Regions from separate parts of the Homo sapiens genome. Here regions 1, 2, 3, 4, 5 and 6 are each linked to region 7. Evidence: promoter capture Hi-C in 16 types of primary human blood cells and fetal thymus (Javierre and others, 2016). All regions are on one chromosome and are shown on one strand. Each heading gives the region's core, a stretch centred on a gene start or on the middle of the fragment in contact. The rest is flanking DNA. Distances are from core to core; before and after follow the strand shown.

Evidence for each region. Contacts are between HindIII fragments. The CHiCAGO score rates a contact against its expected background, and 5 or more counts as called.
Region 1: a fragment that was not itself captured here is called in contact with the fragment with the promoter of CCN4 in region 7 in 5 of 17 cell types (activated CD4 T cells, M1 macrophages, non-activated CD4 T cells and 2 more); the score reaches 7.6 in activated CD4 T cells.
Region 2: a fragment that was not itself captured here is called in contact with the fragment with the promoter of CCN4 in region 7 in 13 of 17 cell types (activated CD4 T cells, non-activated CD4 T cells, M2 macrophages and 10 more); the score reaches 12.3 in activated CD4 T cells.
Region 3: a fragment that was not itself captured here is called in contact with the fragment with the promoter of CCN4 in region 7 in 12 of 17 cell types (activated CD4 T cells, naive B cells, non-activated CD4 T cells and 9 more); the score reaches 11.7 in activated CD4 T cells.
Region 4: a fragment that was not itself captured here is called in contact with the fragment with the promoter of CCN4 in region 7 in 1 of 17 cell types (activated CD4 T cells); the score reaches 5.5 in activated CD4 T cells.
Region 5: a fragment that was not itself captured here is called in contact with the fragment with the promoter of CCN4 in region 7 in 2 of 17 cell types (activated CD4 T cells and M2 macrophages); the score reaches 7.3 in activated CD4 T cells.
Region 6: a fragment that was not itself captured here is called in contact with the fragment with the promoter of CCN4 in region 7 in 1 of 17 cell types (activated CD4 T cells); the score reaches 5.2 in activated CD4 T cells.

What each region holds. Positions count from the first base shown.
Region 1 is chr8:132,837,149-132,840,217 of GRCh38, forward strand. PHF20L1 (PHD finger protein 20 like 1) reads left to right here. Exons shown (of 21, transcript NM_016018.5): 17 at 564-663; 18 at 2,239-2,434. Among named protein-coding and RNA genes, the nearest start is that of TG, 28 kb to the right of the region's middle. The HindIII fragment of the contact is 4,112 bases long and covers 1-3,069 here.
Region 2 is chr8:132,855,372-132,858,568 of GRCh38, forward strand. No RefSeq gene overlaps it. Among named protein-coding and RNA genes, the nearest start is that of TG, 10 kb to the right of the region's middle. The HindIII fragment of the contact is 7,954 bases long and covers 1-3,197 here.
Region 3 is chr8:132,898,571-132,901,519 of GRCh38, forward strand. TG (thyroglobulin) reads left to right here. Exons shown (of 48, transcript NM_003235.5): 14 at 228-340; 15 at 1,667-1,769; 16 at 2,783-2,949. Among named protein-coding and RNA genes, the nearest start is that of TG, 33 kb to the left of the region's middle. The HindIII fragment of the contact is 3,394 bases long and covers 1-2,949 here.
Region 4 is chr8:132,798,235-132,801,356 of GRCh38, forward strand. PHF20L1 (PHD finger protein 20 like 1) reads left to right here. Exons shown (of 21, transcript NM_016018.5): 5 at 538-626; 6 at 861-938. Among named protein-coding and RNA genes, the nearest start is that of PHF20L1, 24 kb to the left of the region's middle. The HindIII fragment of the contact is 1,439 bases long and covers 772-2,210 here.
Region 5 is chr8:132,818,153-132,821,361 of GRCh38, forward strand. The region is part of intron 12 of PHF20L1 (PHD finger protein 20 like 1); the gene reads left to right. Among named protein-coding and RNA genes, the nearest start is that of PHF20L1, 44 kb to the left of the region's middle. The HindIII fragment of the contact is 8,257 bases long and covers 1-3,209 here.
Region 6 is chr8:132,729,575-132,732,849 of GRCh38, forward strand. The region is part of intron 5 of TMEM71 (transmembrane protein 71); the gene reads right to left. Among named protein-coding and RNA genes, the nearest start is that of TMEM71, 29 kb to the right of the region's middle. The HindIII fragment of the contact is 831 bases long and covers 984-1,814 here.
Region 7 is chr8:133,189,696-133,192,996 of GRCh38, forward strand. It overlaps CCN4 (cellular communication network factor 4), which reads left to right and starts at 1,344. Exons shown (of 5, transcript NM_003882.4): 1 at 1,344-1,518. The coding sequence starts at 1,450. RefSeq lists a silencer at 2,216-2,463. The HindIII fragment of the contact is 13,274 bases long and covers 1-3,301 here.

The DNA of each region.
Region 1 (3,069 bases), core at 17-2,516, 350 kb before region 7:
CAACTTCTTCTTGTAGGAAAGATATCTTTAAGATAAAAGGAAAGCATAACCCAAATTTTGTGATGCCAGAAGATTTGGAGATGTTAGTTGAGAGCATGAAGAAAGAGTAATCTTTTTTCCTCCCATTTTTCTGTGGTTTTATGGAGGGAACTATGAATTTATAACTTCACCACAGAAGTAGTACTTTAAGAGATCATTGGTATAGACACTGCTACCAACTTTTTTTTCCCCTAATTTCCGCATTTTAATAAACTATTTTAAGAGTTTTATGATATGATTGCCTAAATATCAGTGAGAATTAAATTAGAGAAATTATGACTTAAGTACTTGATCAAAGCATATTCTAATAGGTGCAACAAAAGAAAGTTCGTGAAGTAGTTGACCATTTCAAAGATAAAATTCATCTTAAGTCATGGCTTGATTTTGTTGTGTCAAATAAGTATGAAACTGATAGTGGCAGTAAGAAGCCAAGCCAGCCAATTCAAAGAAAGGGCATGTATCCTTATTCCTAGCTTATTCCTAGTGAGGATCGGGTGACTGTAATACTCCTCTGTTTTCTGCAGTGTGAAGAGTGCTTGTGTTGGCAACACAGCGTGTGCATGGGGCTGCTGGAGGAGAGCATTCCAGAGCAGTACATCTGCTATATCTGCCGGGACCCACCAGGTAAGGCTTTCTGTGCCGTGCTGATTGCCAGGATGCCTCTATGTCTCCTCCAGGATTCCAGAGTGTATCAGCTGTGTTCACCACCACTACAGCAAGTTCTCACATGATGTCATTGATAGGTTCTTGGAAACTGTGACTCCAAATGAAACAGCATGCTATATGCCATAGGAACTTAACTTGTATGTATCAATTAGCTTATAGTACAATTCATTTCATTATTCAGTGTGCCAGTTTCCAAGAACCTATTGATTACCCTTAGTGAGGACTCACTGTACTTCTTGGTCAATTAGACTCAACTTCCGTATTAAAATTTTAAAATATTTTTTCACTGTTACATTTTTATTTTCCACATTGATTACTTAGACAAATACATTAGCATATATTTATCAACAAAATTACTATCCTACTGGAAGGGAAGAGGTGTGACTTTTTCCTGGAGAAGAATTAATTAGCCTCTGTTCCTCTGTATCCATTTCTAGCTAGGCTTATTTGTGGCAATCGGAGTAGATCTGCATTATGAACTTGCATGCTACTGACCTGGCAGTTCTGCATATTCGACTCATTGTAGAGCAGGTGGGGTCTTAGAACACTACCTGTGATGCCTTTATTTTACTGATGAGGCAGACTGAGATGAAATCTATGCCTTTTGACTCTCAATCCACCATGCTGTCTACTTGGTGCCTTCTTCTATGCTAGAGGATCTTCAGATAGCATATTCTGCATATTGAATTTAACTTCAGCCTCCAGGCAGGAAATAACTAGGTTTTCTCAAATAATAGGCATGTGGTGAATTGGTCCCATGACTATTGGAAAAAAAGAAAAAAGTCACAATAAGTCACAAAAAAGTCACAGTAAGAAGCAAGAGAATTAATTATTCACAGCCATATGAATGTAGACATTTGTTCATTCACCAACATTTATAGTGTTCATTATTCATTGTATTTATTCAATAACAAATGTAGACATTTGTTATTTATTCAGAAGCATTTACTGGATGGCTTCTATTTGCCACTGTGGTGAGATGATTGATTTAAACCATGCCTTCAACTGGCTAGTAGTATAGTATGGGACACAGGCAATAAACACCTGGTTGTAATAGGATCTAATTTATATTAACATGAAGGATATGGAATTTCATAGGATTCTGTGAAATCACAGACATGGGGGAAGGGTTCCTATTCACTCAGCTAGAACTCTATGGTTCATCCAGTTCAAAACAAAGGTTAGTGAGAGAAATAACCCCTGTCTAGTTTTTATCCAGCCCTTTGAGCCTTTTTAGAGGACAGATGATGACTACAAAACATTGAAAGCAGTACACTCAAGGTTCCCTTTGCAAGTGTCATCTGCCACTGACCATGTCCTTAATGGTGTTTCTTCTCCTGGGTGGGCAGGAACGCTGAAGGTGTGGAGGAGCTCTTCCTGCACCAGTTCCTCAGAACGCTGTCTTACTCTTTTTGAATCTGCTCCTAGTGCTAGAGCTTGCCTTGCTTAATGAGCAACGTTAGTAGGTTAGCAGTTGATGAAAAATCCGAGTAAGTGCAGTCCTCTGTGATTTAATATCAACTTCATCTGCAGGTCAGAGGTGGAGTGCAAAATATCGTTATGATAAGGAGTGGTTGAATAATGGGAGAATGTGCGGGTTATCATTTTTCAAAGAAAATTATTCTCATCTCAATGCCAAAAAGATAGTTTCTACACATCACCTGCTTGCTGATGTCTATGGTGTTACAGAAGTGCTACACGGGCTACAGCTGAAGATTGGAATACTAAAGTAAGTGAAGGGCAGCAAAGGGAGGGTCACACTTCAGTGGACGTTTTAATTCAAACCAACACTGTTGGCCTTTTGATGGTCCAGAGTAACAGTTTGGAGGAGAGAACAGGTATTTGAATAAAGTTTCATTTTTAAAAATAAGGAAAGATTAACAACCTTTTGGATGCGTTGGTGCTTCCTGTCTATTCTAGAATGTGTAAGTGTGGTTAAAGGTAGATACGGCATCTAGTATTTCAACACATTTTAGCTCCTGTCCCACTGTTTTGTATGCTTACCGTATGTGCAAAATTAAGTGCAGTTGCTGTGGTGAACCCTATACGTTGTGTCCTCCTTCAGGAATGCTATCAAATGAAATAGATTCTAAGCAGGGTGAGTATTTTTTTTTATAAAGATTGATTTAAAGGTGATGAAGGGAGCCTACAAACCGAATTCACTTCTCTGCTGTGCACCAAATATGTTAGTCATCCCATACAATTTTCTCTTAAACAAGTCTTTAAAGAACGTATCAGAATATTCTTGAAGTCCTTATTTCCAGTCCTTCCTAATGCCTGACTGGAATTCTTCTTTAAAAGAACAAACAAACAAAAACCCACATTTTAGGTAAAAACAGGATGATTCACTGGTTCTTCACAAGA
Region 2 (3,197 bases), core at 493-2,992, 330 kb before region 7:
TCTTGATTTTATGATTGGCTGCTTGTCTCTCCCTCCCTCTCTCCCACCTTCCTTCCTTCCTTTCTCTTCTTCCCCTCACCCCAAATCCTCAGTCTACTTAGAAGTTTGTCAATTTTGTTACCCTTTCAAGAAGTTGTTGCTTTATTTTAGTTTTTCTGTTGCGTTTTATATTATGTTTTATTAATTTCTGCTCTTGAATTTCCTTTCTTTCTTCCCTTTATTTTTTTCCCTCCTTTAGCTTCTTGAGGTAAAAACTATGATTATTGATTTTAGATCTTTCTTCTTTTGAATCTAGGCATTTAAAGCTGTAAATTTCCCTCTAGGCACTGACTTAATTGCATATCATACTTTTTGACATGTTGTACTTTCTATTTTCATTCAGTTAGAGATATTTTCTAAGTGAAAATATATCTATTTTCTAAGTTTTTCTAAGTATTTTCTAAATTTATCTTGTGATTTCTTATTGACCATGGATTATTTAGAAATGTTTAATTTCCTAGCACATGGGTATTTCTCATATTTCTTCTGTTGATTGTTTCTAATTTTATTCCAATATTGTTGGAGAATATTCTTATATAATTTTAGTCCTTTTCAATTTATTAAGTCTTGTTTAATGCCTAGCATATTAAATGTGCACTTGAAAAGAATGTGTATTATGCTATTGTTATGTGAAGTGTTCTATACGTATCAGGTCAACTTGGTTAAGAGTTTAGCTCAGGTCTGCTATATCTTCACTGATTTCTCTCTAGTTGGTATATCAACTATTAAGAAAGAGATATTGAAATTATCAGCTAAAATGATTGAGTTGTCTATTTGTCTTTTCAATTAAATCAATTTTTATATTGTGCTTTTTGGGTCTTTCTTGTTGTAGTTTGTGTGTGTGTGTGTGTGTGTGTGTGTATTTACAATTTTTTATATCCTGGCATATTAACCTTTTCATTGTTATTAAATATGACTTTTTGTGTCTAGTAGTACTCCTTGTCTTAAAATCTGTTCTGTCTGATATTGATGTACCCAAGAGCAATGAAAACATGTCTACATAAAAACTTATTTACAAATGTTCATAGCAATATTATTCATAATGGCCAAAAAGCAGAAACAACATAAATGTGCACCAATTGATAAATGGATCAATAAAATCTAGTGTATCTACATAATGGAATATTATTCAGCAATAAAAACAAATGAATTACTGATACATGCTACAACACATCTATAACATAGATGAACATTGAAACCCTCATACTAAGTGAATGAAGCCAATCACAAAAGACCACATATTGTATGATTCAATTTATATGAATTTTCCAGAACAGAAAAATCTATAGAGACAGAAACTGGATTGATTGGTGGTTACCTAGGGCTGTGGCGGGGTGGGGAATGGGGAAATTGGAGGATGATGGCTAAAGGGTGGGGGATTCTTTTGAGAATAACATTCTAAAATTTATAGTGATGGATGCAAAGTTATGTAAAGGTACCAAAAGCTGTTTAATAGCTGTACCAACAGCTATTAAATTGTTGAATACACTTTAAATAGGCAAATTGTATGGTATGTGAGTTATCTCACCAAAGTCTTTTAAAAATTTTTTTTAAAGAACACATATACATCAAATTGTTGATTATGATGAAACCAAGGAGATGTTACAGCCAAATAAAATGTTAAATCCTGGACTGGACCCTGGAACAGAAAGAGGAACATTAGTGCAATAATTGGTGAAATTCTATTACAGTATTCAGTTTAGTTAATAGTATTATTCTGATGTGATGTTAACATTAAGTGAAATTGATTAAGGGGTATATAGAAACTTTGTACTACTACTGCGACTTTGGGTAAGTCTGTAATTATTTCAAAATGAAAAGTTAAAGAAAAACTATATGAGACAAGAGTGAAAATGCAACCTATGGATTGTAGTTCAGAATGCACCAATAGTGGTTAATTGTAACAAATACACCACACTGATATAAAATGTGAACAGTAGGGAGAACTGCATGGGGAAGGAGGGTATATGGGAACTCTGTACTATCTGCTCAATTTTCTGTAAATCTAAAACTGTAAAGTCTATTAATTTAAAAAAATTAAAAACTTCAAATTTCTTTCTATTTCTGAAAAAGGAATATGAAAGGATAATTTTAATATGCTATCTTTTTAGTTTGAGAAAGAAAAAAATTCAGTGAAATTATTACAAACCCACAGGCAATTTAAAGTTAATCCTTGCAATACACTGTCTCTAGGAATCAGGCTGGCTCAGTGAATCAAGGAGGAAATGCAGTCATGAGAAAAAGAAGCCGTGAAAGAATGAAAATGAAATGAAGGAAGATAGAAGAGAGTGTTGCTTTGGAGAAACTGTGCAATCTGTGAAGGCAGACTGGTCAGATTTAAATATAAAATAGGGCTTTGAAGGCCTGGGTAGGCTGATACAAGTGGGAAGTGGAGATGCACAGGGAATTCAATTGCTCTGAAAGTAGACACTAGAGAAAGCAGAAACATCTTAATTTTCGCAAATCAAAACAAACTTGGAAATTTTGGACCACACTGCACTCAGATCTTGGAAGATCTTGGCTCTTTTGTTGGATTTCTTCAAGGAGAGAACTAGGATCAACCAACAGTTGAGAAGTTCCATCTTAAAACAACAAATAGCTCAGTAAGTGGGAACCATCCCATGAAGAATGGGCTACTATATGGGATGCTTACAGAAAACCTAGACATATGTAATAAGATTGGACCAAATATACAGAGTACTCAAAGTAGTTTTAGTGAGTTTCAAGGTGAGGCAGCCATCTTCATGCAGAGGTGGAGATACAGATGCTATTTATGACCCAAGGAAACATGCCCGAAAAATTTACAGAATGATGGCTCTAAAGTGAGGCACACTAATATGAGAGCCATTGAAGGGGCCAGGCAAAACAGGATAGTGTACATGTCTGAACTGTTGGTCACATGGCAGAATGACTTGACGGAGACACTTGAGGAAGTGGCAGCGGACAAGATAGGTCTGAATAACTGATGCTTTGGGCAGTCCCAGAGTATATTGATTTTATCTCCTCAGATCTGAGAGAAACAAGTGGACAAAATCTAGTGGCATATGTTTAAAACTATTTCTAGAAAGAACAGAACAAAAAGAAGGGCTCAAATCCAGCAAACCATCCCAGCCCAAAATGAATCAGAGAAGAAAGGAGAGTGACTTAAGCTAGTTAAC
Region 3 (2,949 bases), core at 281-2,780, 290 kb before region 7:
GCCCCAACCCCTCTTCTGAGGCTCAGCCATGTGTAATCCACAGTCCACTTGACATCTCAAAGCTGGCATGTCCCACATGAGTCTTTGTCCTCAGAGATTCTACCTCTCTATGAAGAGCACCTGCATTCACCCAGGCTCATGACCCTTAAAGGTGGGGTCAGCCTGGGATCCCCTCTTTCTCTTGGCTCCCACGACCAGTCCTTTACAAGCACCTCTCTCTCCCACAGGCCCGACAACCTGCGAGAAATCTCGAACCAGTGGGCTGCTTTCCAGTTGGAAACAGGCTAGATCCCAAGAAAACCCATCTCCAAAAGACCTGTTCGTCCCAGCCTGCCTAGAAGTAAGGGTCTGGAAGCACAGGATTGGAGCCGGGACTTGTCCCCGCTGGTCAGAGATGATTTTTCTTTTTGTTCAATACGTTCAGCTTAGTTAAAAGCTCACATGATGTTCTCAGCCTGGGTGTTTGTCTGGGCCTGCTAGAACCTGGTTCTGTGACCTTGGGCTATTTACTTACCTTTTCTGTGTCCCAGTTTGTTTTGTTTAATCATAAGATCAGGCCACATTTTGTCCTAGCTAATGCTAGGTTTGTTTTGAGACTCCAAGAAAATATCTTTCATAAGAACTCTTTGAAAAATAAACAAAACATGCTATCATGTTTTTCCTAAAGGCATCTTGGCCAAGGCCCTATGCTTACAGTGTCCCAGGTTCTCAACACACACAGAGGACACCAGCTTCTTTCCCTCCCTAGCTCCCGGGGTGATTGTAACAATTCATAATTCAGCGAAGTACTGATGTAGAGCTCCTAGAGAACGAATTTATGCCCAGAACTTAACCACTTACTTGCCAAGTGAGGGAAATCTCTGGGCTTAGTGTCCTTTTTCTAAAATAGGATGGTAGGAACACCACCACCCACTCTGCTCAGCTTCCAAAGACTTGATGAGAAGCAGATGAAACAGCAGTGTTGAAACTCATGAAACTGTACAGTACTAAGCAAAAGTTTCCTTATTATTGTTTGGTACTGTAAACATGGACCCACTTAAGCATAGTTTCATAGAGAAATTAGTCACTATTGTTTAGTTTTTTAATCTTGGCTGGAAAGCACCTACTGTTGGAATGCAATTCTGCTTCTCCTTCCTGGGCACTGATGCTTACACAGAGAGAAGGAGAGGTAGAAGCCACAATGTCCGATGGTGGGAGAAGGGATTACAGAGTGGAGCTTAGAGGCGCTCTGAGGTGTGGTTTGCAAGGCCAGTTCCTGTGGAGGACTCTAGTACTTGTCAAAATCATTTCTGGAATTAGTGAGGCTGGTCCAGGAGCATGGCTAGGCTTTGGGTCTAGATGGGTTTGGGCCTGGACCTGACCTGCCTCTCACTCACCAGCTGTGAGTTGTTGCCCCACTTTCCCTCTCTGAGAGATCTTCAGTTTCACCCACCCAAAAGCGGGAGAACTGTGGTCCATGCCTCATGAGGCTGTTGTAGCCGTCAATCAAATGATGCACGTAAAGGGCTGGGAACAGGAGAGCACCTCTCCCCACCTCCACATCTCTCCGTCTGGAGAAGCCATCACCTGTTGTTTTGGAAGGGACACTTTTGACATCTGCCAGCAGCAGGTTGGCCACTAGAGCATCTTGCCCACAGTGACTGACATGACCCCGGCTTTGTCTCAGACAGGAGAGTATGCCAGGCTGCAGGCATCGGGGGCTGGCACCTGGTGTGTGGACCCTGCATCAGGAGAAGAGTTGCGGCCTGGCTCGAGCAGCAGTGCCCAGTGTGAGTAGCAGCCCCTCCTGGCATGGCTTCTCACCTCTTCTGTGGGGCACTGAGCGTGGAGTCCAAAGAGCTGGCTTCGTGTCCCAGCTCTACTGCTTCCATAGCTGTGGGGGCACAGCTGCTGACCTCACTATGCCTCAGTTTTCTCATCTATGAAATCGGGGCAATATTCCCCCATCTCTGCAGTTTCTTGGGAGAAGCAAACGTGGGAGGGAGTAGGCTGTGCTTTGTGTCTGAGAAGTGCAAACCAGCATTGATCCCCATCAAAGGGGGCCCTAGGGCTTTGGAGGGCTGGCCGGATGTGTGGCCCTGCCGTCTGGTTTCCGCAGTGAAGCCCAGGTGATGTCCCCAAAGGGCAATGTGCAGATGTCCCTCTTCTGCCTAAACACCATAAATGCTCCCATCATCTTCGGGGCCGTGCTTGAGCTCCCTGGAATGGCTCGAGGGCCCTTTGCATCTGGTGCTGGTGTGTCTTCTTCGACTTCTCTTTCTTCTCCATCAGTTGTGCTTCAGGGTGCAGTTGTGATAAATTCTGGTCAGACTTTGGAAAAAGGAAGACGCTTTCTTCCACCTGTGCCTTCACGCGTTCTGGCTGTGCCACCTGCAATATGTCCGTCTATCCCCTCCCCACCTGACAAATTCTTGCTCAGACCACACATCTGTCCCTCCAGGAAGCCTCTGCTGGCCTCTCTCTTCCTCTGTAGGCTCCTACACTGCACTATTGTTGCCTTTATTTCACAGAACTGTACCTGCTCACGTACTTGTTAACTCTCCTTTAAGACTCTAAGCTGCTTGAGGGCAGGCAGTGGAGGGGAGAGAGTACAGAGCTGAGCCAGGTCCAGTGTTTGCCTTGTTGTCATTCAACCTCCTGGTGGGGAGGCAGCCCCAGACCCCTGGAAGGCCCTGCAGGCAGGTGGGCTGAGGGTGGCCGTGGGTGGTGAGGAGGGTGATTGGGCATCTGAGCAGGGAGTGGGCACTGATTCCCCAGCCCATCTGGCTTGTCTCTGTGTCAGGCCCAAGCCTCTGCAATGTGCTCAAGAGTGGAGTCCTCTCCAGGAGAGTCAGCCCAGGCTATGTCCCAGCCTGCAGGGCAGAGGATGGGGGCTTTTCCCCAGTGCAATGTGACCAGGCCCAGGGCAGCTGCTGGTGTGTCATGGACAGCGGAGAAGAGGTGCCTGGG
Region 4 (3,122 bases), core at 241-2,740, 390 kb before region 7:
ACTTTTATCTAGATGATTTGTAAAATATTTTCTACCTTTAAAGTCTGGAACTACAATTCTTATTTTCCAGTTTGTTGTTATTGCCCAAGGAATAATCCTTTCCAGGGCAAATGATCTTTTTTGCATATCAGCTCCTTCTCTGTATTACTTCTTTTGAAAGAAACATTCAAAAGCAAATGGTAATGCCTATGGAAATATTATATATTTTTGTAAGTAATGATTTTACTTTTGTCAGCTATGTTGAGTCTAAACATTTAAATTACTGCAAAATAAATTATAAAATTTCTTAGTAAAAATCAGAATTACATGGAACTAACTTATCAAGACTTAATTTGTGTACTTGTTAGGGGAAACAGGAGTTCAGAGTTGTTTTTAGAGGGAGGGAGAAAGTAAACTTGATGGAGTCCTTAACAGGAGCATTTGTAGTTTTTGCATTCCTAAAGCATTTATCTATACAAGTCACTACTTGTTAGATTTCAAGTGTTGCTGTAAACTTGAATTATATTTTCTAATGATTCTGACTTGCTCCTGTTTCAGGAACATTTACAGTTCAGTTTTATGATGGAGTAATTCGTTGTTTAAAAAGAATGCACATTAAAGCCATGCCCGAGGATGCTAAGGGGCAGGTAAGAGTGTTCAGTATTCCTAGCTACCCAAAGGGTTATCTTCTTGAACGGTGACTGATCAAAATATATTTATATGTATATTTTTTAAAAATGAACTAATTGTAGGGTTATGTGCTGATAGCCCCAAATAGCAGCAAGAAAAGGAAGCTTAGACTGTAAAATAAATTATACATTTGATTTTTGCTTCTTTGGTTTAGACCTGCTAAAGTTATAGGTCACTAGTTTCTGTTCCAGGTGAAATCCCAGCATCCACTAAGCTGGTGTTGTCCTATCGACCCAGCTGGATCGTGTAACCAGTCTATGGGAAGTGAGGTAAGAGCCTTTTTTTTAAAAATTTTGTTTTGTTTTTCCTGGTATATAATGTCATTTAGAAAGTTAAAAATTTTTAATATAAAAATTTACATTGAGTTCTTATCTTCTTCTTTCCTTCTACAAATCATAGTCATTCATCTTCCTTTAAAAGGCGCTTACCTGACACTCTGTAGGCTGTTTCAGATAGGGCTCTCTGAGTCATGTGATGGAAGCAGTGTATTGTATGCTTTGTCACTGCTCAAAGCAAGAATGGATGGTAAGCATTGGAAGGAGAATCTTGGGTGGAGGTAAAAACCACAATTCCATTTGTTGGCTATGTTTTCTGAAATACTGGAAAGAAAGGTGCCATTAGAAATTTAAAATATTTTCTTTTCTATTCTGCTGTTATTTGGGATTTTCAGCACCTGGACCTACAATTAATTTTAAGAAATTGAAAGTAGTGTGTAAAAATGTCTAATATGGAAATATGCTACGTATTTGTTCCATACCATGCGGTGAAAACTGTCATTCTGAAATGTATTGAAATTACCTGGTCAGCTTCAGTCAAGTGTAAACATTTAGTGCTCTAGAAATGTATATCTACCACATTAAAAAAATTATTCATGAAGAAATAAGTGTGATTGTTTTAAATTGCCTGGTTTTCAAAAATTTAGTTATGAAATGATTAGCAAGCAGATTTCTTCTAATTAATATGTAAATGCAATTTAAAATGAAAATGCTTTTGATCAGGAAGTGGCTTTGTGTCTTCCCACATGTATGTATAAATAAAGTGTTCTTTTAAGCATTCAGTGGTGTGATTTCTTGGTTACTACATAGATTGATTAAAAGGTTGGGAACATTGTATATACCTGCTTAAGCAAAAGTCTCAATTTTTTTTTTTTTTTTTGCTTTAAAACAATTATTTTGTTATTCTGGTTGATCAGATGTTCATGAATTGACATTATATTATTGCCTTAAAACTTTGTTTTTTCAAAGTGGGACACTGAGCCAATTTGGTTTGTGGTAAAATTACAGCTTGTAAAAATTAAATTTATTGGATGTTATGGATGTTTGTTTTTAATAAGTAGTGATTCTTTAGTCACACTATGATGCATTATAACATTAAGATCAGTGCCAAGATATAAAACAACTGAAATAATATTTGGGTAGTAGTATATTTCTTTTAATTTTTCATTTTTTTCTTTATAATTCTTAATCACAGCAACGTTAACAATATTTGTAGAATTGTGTTTTATAAATGACTCTCATTTTATGAGTTGCTTTTTCCCAACAAGCTTTTGACTTGCCTTCATCAAAGAAATATGCCAAATCAGTTGTTATTTGGGCAAAGCTAAGGGGGGCCTATCTTGTATAATATCTTCTAAATTTTGAGTACTTTGAGAATTTGTTTAGAAAGATAATTTTTAAATTAAGCTAGCAAAGAGTAGTGCAACAAATTAATGCACTGTGGAAATGCTCTTCCTGAACCTGTCTAAAATGTGACATTAGTAACACTTTTGTATATGCAAACCTCCGAAGTAATTAATATTCTTAAGCCTAAATAAGTCTTAATTCTGTTGTTTTTGACTTTGAACCCGTTGGTTAATACTGGATAAACTTCTGCTTGCATTAAGAGTTTAGCTTGAGCACCTTAAAGAGCTTTTAATATTACAGTGGGTGCAATGTGAGCTGTAGTCCTTCTAACACTGTATTTGTAGACATTTTTCTCACTGGGAAAGAAGGTAATGGTAGACATGTTATCAGCCCAAAATAAGATCCCCTCTTTTTCTCCCTACCTACAGTTTTTTCTTCTTCCACATAATTTTGTGTGGAATGGTAGTGTTGATACATAAATAGCTATGAAACTGACATATATTATAGGAGGGGGATTGATTCCTTCATTTTATGAGATACCTCCTTGTTCCTTCTGGTTTTCTACCCTAATAAGAGCAGTAGTAATTACAGGGTGAGAGATTGAGCCATTATATTTTTAATTTGGAAGCTTGTAACAGAAGTACTTGCCTTTTCTCTCATTTCTTCTTCCTGAGGGCGTGCTGATACAAAATATACGTTGTGACTCACTAGTGTTAATGGTTGGCTTATAGGTCCTTTGCTATTAATATTTACAAAACATTTTTTGTGTGCCTTGTTTCGTTGGATTCTCATAGTAGATCCTTTGACATAGGTATGGCTAATATTTCTGTT
Region 5 (3,209 bases), core at 568-3,067, 370 kb before region 7:
ATAATATCTATTCATGTTTCCCTTATGTGGGTGCATTGTTTTATTTAGAAGTTTTTAAGAATTATAACCTGATCTAGAATACACATAAAATAAAAAGGCCAATACTAGTTACAAATGCACTTCTGGTAAATTACTGTTGGAACTAGATGTTTGAAGGAAGTCTGAATTTAGTTTGTTGTGAGTTGGAGAAAAACATAAGGCAGTTTGTTGATTCGTTACCAAGGGTGTTGGTGATCATTGTGTTTACAGGCGTCTTCCCTGAAACCATTTTATCCATTTTTTGGATGAAGCATAAAATGAAACTTATTCTTTTCTGGTGATGGCATGTATTGAAATAAAATGATTGAAGTAACATAAGAGACATATACTTATTTTTATTAATTTTTATCTTTATATAAAGGTTGAAGTTACTTTGTACATGATAATTCTTTATCATGTTTAAAAAAATAAAACAATACCCAAATGTGAATATTTGTAGATTTTGAAACATTTCCTGTAGTTTCTCAAATCAGATCTATTGTCTTTTGACTCTTGGTCTTTCCTTAAGATAATTAATTTTTCTTTTCCACTTTTCCACAAGATTTCCAAATTGTCATTGACCCATTGAGATACTTTTTTGATAAAGGTCTTATTCGGTTCTTTAACGATCTGGAATTTGTTACCGTACTGAATATATGAAAAATATGTTAAAGTTATAAGGTTGTATATACATTGGGAAAATTATTTTCAAATGTACATGTGAAAATATTTACATTTTTCTTTAAAAGTATTCTAATATTTGTAACAATATTGAAATATAGGCCAATATAAGTAACTGTGTAATAACTAAGAGTCTTACATTAACAGATTATATATCATAAAATATCAATGTAGTGATTGTGCATGGAAGTCCTTGACTTCGATGATTTTGCTTCTAACCAGATTATTAACTTCCTCTTTTCAGAATTTCTAGCATATTTGTGGCAATGTGGCTGACTACCTTAGAGGAAGGCACACGAATATTCTTTCCCTTTTTAAATATTAGCAGTAACTATTGGAAAAGTAAAATAAGTAAGATCGTTTTCTGGGAAAGTAAAAGGTAGAGAGGAGTTTAGCTATAATTTGAATTTGTGGAAGAGTAAGGATTATCTGGATATGATGAGCTTAATAGTACAGTAGCTGTCAACTTTAATTGATTATAGCAAGGAAATGCATAGTTTTAATTGTTAATTACTGAAGATTTATTAGAGGGTTGAACACAGTATTTGAATAGAGGGAGGTGAAATTCTCATTTGTTTCTGTGACCTCTTAATTTTTAGTTTTTGAGGAAAGTAGTGCAATTTAGGTCATGTTCTGACTGAACACCTTTTGATTACAACCTTGTGTGCCTGTCCCACGTGCATTGAAATTCTCGGTGGTCTCTATGCTTTTCTCCTTAACCTTTTTGTTATTCACCCTCTCTTGACTATTTTGCAGTATTTGTTATGCTTCTGTCTGTTCCCCAAGTCCTTTTACATCTAGAGCCAAAGTGCCAGGTTTTTATGTTTTTATTTCTCTGATACATATGTACATATATGCACATACTCATACACACATGTATGTTTTGTTGGTGTCCATATTATAAAAGTAAATTTTCTTACTGTTGAATTTTAAAACTGATAATTGAAAACATTCTTTACAGTTCGTCAGAGACATTTTCTGAGTTATTTTTGTCAAATTGAAACTCTTGGGGAGTTTAGAATGATGAGGGTGTTAGTTGCTAACTGTGAAATTGTTCAACATGGTTAGGTTTTTACTTTTGGGGGAGCAAGATAAATTCACACTGTTGAGTTTAGCATTTGATGCTGAAGGATTGATGAGATTTGCAGATAGTCCAATTATTATATACAACTTTTCTTAATTGTTTTCCAATAGAGATAATGAACTTGCAATAATCTCTCGTATGTTCTTCTGCTGGGGTGGATGCCCACATGTCTAGCCACTGTTAAGAATGCTATTGCTGCCTACATTACCAAACAAGTAATTGGTATCTTTGTAAAAATTGATGCCTTTGTTTTTATTTTACTATCAGGATGCTTTGTCACAGAGCCAGCCAATTTTAGATAAGGATACAGCCTCAGAAAATCTTAATTCTGTTAGTATCTGGGAGGATAGAGTAAATCAAGTTTTTTGAAAAGGGGTCTTTTGAAAAATACTCTTGGTTCAGGTTCTCACAGGCACCTTGGGCCAACAGTTATCTATTGCCCCTTGTCAACACAATTCTCTTTAGGTGGGAAGCACAGTGTGAACAGATGTGGAATCTGCCTTCTGGAAACTTAGAGTCTAGAAGGGACACAAAGCTAATAACTGAAATACAAATATTTAAAGCAAGATTAAGTGCCTGAATAGGTGTAAAGTACTCTTGGGTGTAAAGGAACAAAAGATTGCCCCAAGAGGCCTCTGGTAGAGCCTCTTAAAAACTCTGGAGAGACAAACCATCTGCCTTCTCTTCCTGCTTCCTTGAAACTCAGTTTTTCATCTATATGATGAGATTATAGTAGATGATGTCTGTGGTCACTTTTGGCTCTACAATGTTGATGTTTTACTTATCATTAATCAGGCATTTGATAGAGTCTATGTTTATTCCAAAAAAAGATTATGATGTAGGATTATTTTTGCTTAAAAACGTCAATTAAGATAGCCTTAGAGATGATAACTTATTGTTTGTAACCACTGTGAAGACAAAATTGGCATTAGTAGGTTGTATGCATATAATTTTGAGCCATTTTAAAAAGTTATTCTTGTATTAAAAGAAATACCTTTAGTAACCCATCTTCATTTTTTTTTTATTTTTTAGCAAATTAGTAAATAAGTTTCAAGGAGCATTTTCCTGTTTTATTGCAGCATGTCTTAGTTAGCATGGATAGGAATGTTGGCTTGACGTGGCCATGCAGAGTGTACCTTTATGTAACGTCAGGATGTCCATGAGCAGGTCCCCTGAGTTTTCGGGTAGCATTCGATGAAATGCATCAGGCTTTGCTTCAGTGTCATTCAAAGTCATCTTAGTTTTTGAATGAAATGTAGATGCAAGTAAATGTATTTACTTATTACATAGATACTTACATAGATACTATGATACTATCATAGATGAGATAGTTGGACTCTTCTTAGTGAATATTCTGTAGAGTGTTCATGAATTATATTATCGATTGGTTAATATAATCCATTTTATCACCAGTGAAAAACAGAAG
Region 6 (3,275 bases), core at 149-2,648, 460 kb before region 7:
TACTTTTCTTTATAGCTGAGCTCAAAAGAAGGAAATATTCCCAAAGGCCAAGCCAGGGAAACCTATAACTCTAAGCATACGCTGTGGACAAAGCTGCCAAAAGGGGTGGGGAGAGGGCCTTAGAAGTCATAGTAGTCAAAGGTCTATGGATTAAATGACATTAGGGACAGAAAAAAGGCCTTGGTCTCAAGAGAGGCAGAAAATTAAAACCGAGTTTCTGTAGGGACTCAAAATGCTATTTCCTCAATGAAAGGATGGCTAAGAAAAAAAATCTGCCCACTAGTTCTAGGAGAAGGCATGAAAGCTTATCTGTTTTGGCCTATGTAGTGGGTGGGAGGAAAATGTCTCCGCCAACACTTTATAAGTAAGTGGGTTTTCAGTTAAATTTTTTTTTTTTTTTTGAGACGGAGTTTTGCTCTTGTTGCCCAGGCTGGAGTGCAATGGCGCAAGCTCAGCTCACAGCAACTTCCACCTCCTGGGTTCAGGCGATTCTCCTGCCTCAGCCTCCCGAATAGCTGGGATTACAGGCATGTGCCACCATGCCCAGCTAATTTTGTATTTTTAGTTGAGATAGGGTTTCTCCATGTTGGTCAGACTAGTCTTGAACTCCCGACCTCAGATGATCCACCCACCTCGGCCTCCCAAAGTGCTAGGATTACAGGCATGAGTCACCATGCCTGGCCTTGAGTTAAAATTTATACTAACCTGGGAAATTAATATTTTAAAAAGTCTCAGGCTGGTACTAGCCCTGTGATATCTGCCAGAAGCCAACATAAAAGCTCTCTGTGGAAACACACTCTCAGCCCAAGCTGCACAGATTTCCCCAGATAAAGCCCAAAGGACATGAGCTCACAATCTAAAATTATAAATTATGCAGGGAGATAATCTCCTATGGGTAAGGAGAATAAATATGATGCTTCAGAAAAAGATAATCCTGCAGTGGGAGATGATGGGAGTAGCCAGGATGTTACCGTCTGGCTTTAAGCTTTGAGCAGGAGGCATGATGTTTGGAGAAATTGTCCTAATTTATTTTACCTTGGGGAAACTCTGAAGACCTGTAAAATTTGTGTTTTTTGTTTTTTTGTGGTTATTTTATACCCATAGTATGTCCTTATTTTTGCTTCTTGTCTAAACAGGACAATTACTTCTATGGTCCATCTAAGCCTTGATTTCATGACTAAGGGAAATATGAATATCGACTGGGCAAATATTTGGTAAACTTATGAACTGTAGGACACTTAGGAGGGAAACAAGGGAGAATAAGACACTGTCCCAAAAGAAGTTGAAATCTAGGGTGTGTGTGTACATGTGTGCATGTGTGTGTTTGTGTGTGTGTGCATGTACACATGAGTCAACAGTGGGAGGCAATAAAGAAGGCATCACTTATGGACAGGGGAAACAGACTATCATTTGCTAAAAAGAGATGAAATATGGTTTTGTGGAAATTTCAAGGACTTTGGCATCAGAAAGACTGAAACATACATTCTAATACTAGTAACAGGGCACTTTGCTTAATTTTTCTGATCCTGAGTTTCTTCATGTAAAATAGGATAGTAATGTCTACTTTTTTACAGCTGTGATAAGTGAAGGAGAAGAGACAAAAATGTAAACATACCAACATATAGTTTAGATGGAGAGAATTGAAACTTCTATTGCTAATAGACATTATAATAGATATAGACCCTAGTTACGTGACCAAATGTGATAATCAACTTCATGGGGAGTAGGGGGTGGTAGAAGGGTGCTGATGAGTCATCAAACGATGTTTCAAGGTGGAAGTGATTTTTAAGAATTTATCATTCAATAATAAAAGAAGCTTATTACTTGACCTTGGGGAAGGTAATATTTACTTTGAATTAGATATGCAGGAATTTGCTATACCATGAAGGGACTCCTAAACCTGCTCCAGACATTTCTAGGCACAGGGTTTATCCCATATGGCTGCTTACTTGCCCCGACTTCACCATAGGACAGGGTCCTCTCTAGAAGAAAGTGCCCCAGCAGAGGGTAAAGACTGTAATCTCTGCCCCCTGCCTCATCACAGAGCTGAACAGGCATAGCAAGAGGGCCTCTGGGAAAGACCAACCTGACCTGGTGGGGAATAGCCACAGTTCCTGAGAAGGGTTTAGAGACAGGGACAAAAGAAAAACAGGGAGGAAGAAAGGAAAGAATCAAGAAGGTGATTTTTACCATGTAGTAGGAACTTCAAGGGGAACAAGCAGGGGAATCTGAACAGCCCCAGTTAACAAATAGAAACTTTCTCTGCCTTGATTGCTGTCATGGAATGTCTGGAACATAAAATGACTAAGGAAAGATACGAAACCAGCTGGGAGGAAAGACTGAAGCAGCCCCCAGGTGACATACCCAGAGAAGACCCCCAAGCCAGAGGAATTGGGAGGTGGAGCAAAAGTAAGGCGGGAGGCAAAAGCTGCATGGATACGGGCCAGGCAGATCTATTTATTCATTCAATGCAGTTATTGTATATACTGCAAATGCTGCTCTGGAAGAAGGAAGTCAAATTAGATATTGCTCTGCCTTACTCATGATCTGGAGAGGGACATACATGCAAATGAACAATTAGGATGCAATGAGGTAATTGCTACAACAAAGGCTGGAACAAGTTATCCAGTGGGAATCTAGGAAGGGGTGTCTGAGTCTGTCTGAGGGAAATCCAAGGAGGCTTCACAGAGGAGGCAGCGCTTCAGTGGAAACTGGAAGGATGAGTAACAGTTCTTCCAGAGAGACAGCAGGAAGAGGACAGGCCAGGCAGAGAGGAAGAGAGTAAGTGGGGATGGGGAGAAATTACAATACCTCAATCTATGAGAGACCAGGGTGGGTTCCCAGAAGAGTCCTCCTGTGTAGCTAGACAAGAGCATGTGCATGAGGTCAGTCCCAGGAGATGATTCTGTCTGGGCTGCTAAGCAGAGGTCACATTGTGTGGGGTCTCATGTCACACTCCAAGCTAATATTGATTCTGTGGGTGATTTAGAGTCATTAAAAAAATCTGAGCATGAGTGTAACATGAGTTGCTTTGTGTGTTAAAATGCTCACTCAGCAGTGAGAGATTTGCGAGATTCCCAGTCTCCCATTCTAGGAGCTGAGTGACTATGGGGCTCCAAGAGACATTGGGGTCCTCATACAACAGTAGTTCTTAATAGGGGGTGATTTCTCCTCCCCGGGGACATGGTGCAATATCTTGAGACAGTTTACGTTGTCACAACTTGGAGTGAGGTGAGGGGTGTTACGGGCATCTACTGAACAGAGGCCAGGGATGC
Region 7 (3,301 bases), core at 94-2,593:
GAAGAAGTGTACAGGGAGCTGGCTGGCCCAGGGGCCACGCCAGGACTGGGGACTCTGTGCTGTGTGATGGGCAGGCTTTGGACAGTTGTATCCAGAAGATGATCTATACATGACGCTAGTTCAAGGATTGCTCTGAGATGTGTGGATGGTAGAAGGTGGGCAGGGAGGCTGGGTATCAGTCAGGAGGCTGTGGCAGCGGTCCCCATGGGGAGCACAGGGCTGGACTAGGACAGCCCATAGAAGACATCCCATCTCCTTTCTTGCCCAAGGAAGAGACTCAGTGGCAGCAGTGCAATAAGGGTACAGGCCAGGAAACCCAACCCCCCAGGGATAGCAAGCATCCAGAGACACGTGGGGACAGCTCCAGCACCAAACGGCTTCTGACCAATGAGCAGAGACGGCAAACAGCAAATGCGTTACCGTGGCTTTCACGTGTCATGAAGGTGATGCTGTAACCTGAGCCTCAGAGCTCATTTTATTTGTGAATTCCTATCATCTCTAGATGGGTGGACTGAAAGCCACCTCTTTCGCTTGCAGCTAGGTAGAGGGGAGTGCAAGAGGGCAAATGAAAACCAGAAGTAGGGTTGGGCGCAATGCCTCACGCCTGTAATCCCAGCACTTTGGGAGGCTGATGTGGGCGGATTACCTGAGGTCAGGAGTTTGAGACCAGCCTGGCCAACATGGTGAAACCTCGTCTCTACTAAAAATACAAAAATCAGCTGGGTGTGGTGGCACATGCCTGTAATCTCAGCTATTCAGGAGGCTGAGGCAGGAGAATTGCTTGAGCCTGGGAGACAGAGGTTGCAGTGAGCAGAGATCGCGCCACTGCACTCCAGCCTGGCCGACAGAGCGAGACTCTGTCTCAAAAAAAAAAAAAAAAAAAAAAAAAAAGAAAAGAAAAGAAAAAGAAAAAGAAAAGGAAAAAGAAAACCAGAAGTAGGAGCAGCCTGAAGAAATGACAGGGAGTTGATTTCCCACTGGGAGCCCTCTCAAAGCCCACACACCCGCCTGCCTGGGGTAACAGTATCTCCTCGGACATCCTGCACCCTCCCATGCTCCCCCCTCCCTACAGTAGTGAAAGACCTAGGCAGGATGACCCCAGCTCCTCTGTGAGAATTTCACACCCTAGTGTGAAGTCATAGCCTTGTAACTTTCCCTTTAAGAACTGTCAGAGCTGGGGAGGCTGGCCAAGCTCAGGCTGGAGGTGGGGACAGAGGGAAGAAAGAAAAAAAAAAAAGAGAGAGAGGCAGGAAAAGTTTTTTCAGAGGAAAATGCAGGGTTTGTCCTTCACCCTGACGTCAGATCTTGCTTTAATAAAACCCCCCAAGGGCTGCGGAAGAGGCATATCTGGTGCTCCTGATGGGCCGGCCAGTCTGGGCCCAGCTCCCCCGAGAGGTGGTCGGATCCTCTGGGCTGCTCGGTCGATGCCTGTGCCACTGACGTCCAGGCATGAGGTGGTTCCTGCCCTGGACGCTGGCAGCAGTGACAGCAGCAGCCGCCAGCACCGTCCTGGCCACGGTGAGTCCTGCCTGGAGGGGCTCAGAGGGAGACCCAGCTCCCTTCTCTACTGGGTCCTGCTACATGGGGGCTGGTGGGCAGGATGAAAAGGGCCAGGAAGGTTTGGGGCTGGAAGGTGGCCACTTACAGGGCAAGGACAGAGCCCAGGGTGAGGAGTCAGCTGCCCAGGTTGGCTGAAGCTGGCAGGGTGAGGAGGACGGTGCGACACTTGGGGAAACAAACTGCACAGGTCCAGCCTGCCCTCTCTCCCCACCTGAAACAGTGCAGAAAGAACGGGGCCCTCAGCAGAACTGGGAGTCAGGGGCCCGGGCTCCAGACCCGTCTTCGCCTAACCTGGCTGTGTGGCCTCGGGTGGGTCACTCACCCTCCAGGAGCAGCGTAAAGCGACGAAGTTGTTAGGTGACTTCTAGAGTCTCTGAGTTTGAAAACTCCAAGACTCCAAGCATTGGAGATGCTGCGAAGATGGGAGATGGAAAAAGCCAAAAAAAATTGGAAAGAAAAATGCCAGCTTTCAACAAAAGCTCCTTATTGAGCAAACAGTGCTCAGGGTGATGTCTAACCCCAACTGCTGTCACCTCCGGTCTGCACAGCCCTCTGCAGTCTGCAGAGTGTCCATACTTGGGTCCTGCCTATGAAGCCTGCTGTTCCAGGGTGGGGGTGATGTGGGCACCCCAGAGTCTCTCTCTCTTCCACCTGCACCCCAGGGTACACCAAGGGGAAGGGACAAAGGTCTGCACCTCCAAAAGCCAGGGGAGTCACATATGTGACCGTGTAGAGCCAGCCTGCTAGGGCCAGGCATGGTGAGGAAAAGGCAGAGGCAGGCAGTGCAAGGAGGGCAGGAGGTGGGTACCTGGCAGCTTCTGAGCCCCAGATTCCACAGCCCAGGGCAGGACCTGCTCCTGGCAGAACAGCCTAGAGACGGAGGGGTGATGGCAAAAGAGTGTTTATCCCCAAATGACACTGATGGCTTCCTTGGGGGTTAAGAAGCCCCCTTCACAGATAAGGAAACCGTGTGTTGGGGTTAAACCACTTGCCAGAATCAGACTCTAGGTCTGCTTCAGCCAGAACTGAGGCCGAGAGCCGACAGCAAACTGAGACCTGGGAAATAGGAATTCCTCTCAATGCCTCGGTGTGTGTAATGATGGCGGGGAGTGGGTCTGTTTCATCTTGGTTAAATCCTCACGCCTGGCATGGTGCCTGACTATAGTTGGTTCAGAACCACCTTACCAGAAAGTTATCAGCTCCATTTCACAAATGAAAGAAATGGAAAGTGAGAGCAAGTAAAGGACTTGCCCAGGAGCTCCTCATTAATAAGTGGCCAGGGCCCAAACTTAGATCTTCTGATGCCAATTTCTAACCATTCCTACTTAGGGGAAGCTGACTGTGTCCTACAGGAGTGCCCAGAAGGAGCTAAGTCGCTGTTTATTTCGGCTCTGGGTATGGCTGCGCCTTTATTTGGGTATAGCTTTGCAGGTTGCTATGTCTGGGAGGGCAGGGAGAGGATGGAGAAAAGGTGAGCGTTTGAGAGAAGCCAAAGTCTGAGTGGGCAGAGGAGGCGAGAGGTTTAAGCATGAGTCCAAGTACTCTGGAGCCCCAGTCAGCTCCCAGAACAGCCGGTGCTGAGGAGGAGTGAAGGACAGAGCCGAGGACTCAGCCAGAGGAGACCAGCAAAGGAGCAGAGCGTGTGGAGGGACCCAGGGAGCAGGTTGGAGGGAAGGCTCCCGGGACCAGCACAAGGTACCTCTCTTCTAGGCAGCCCCTGCCTGGGGAACCCAGACCACCC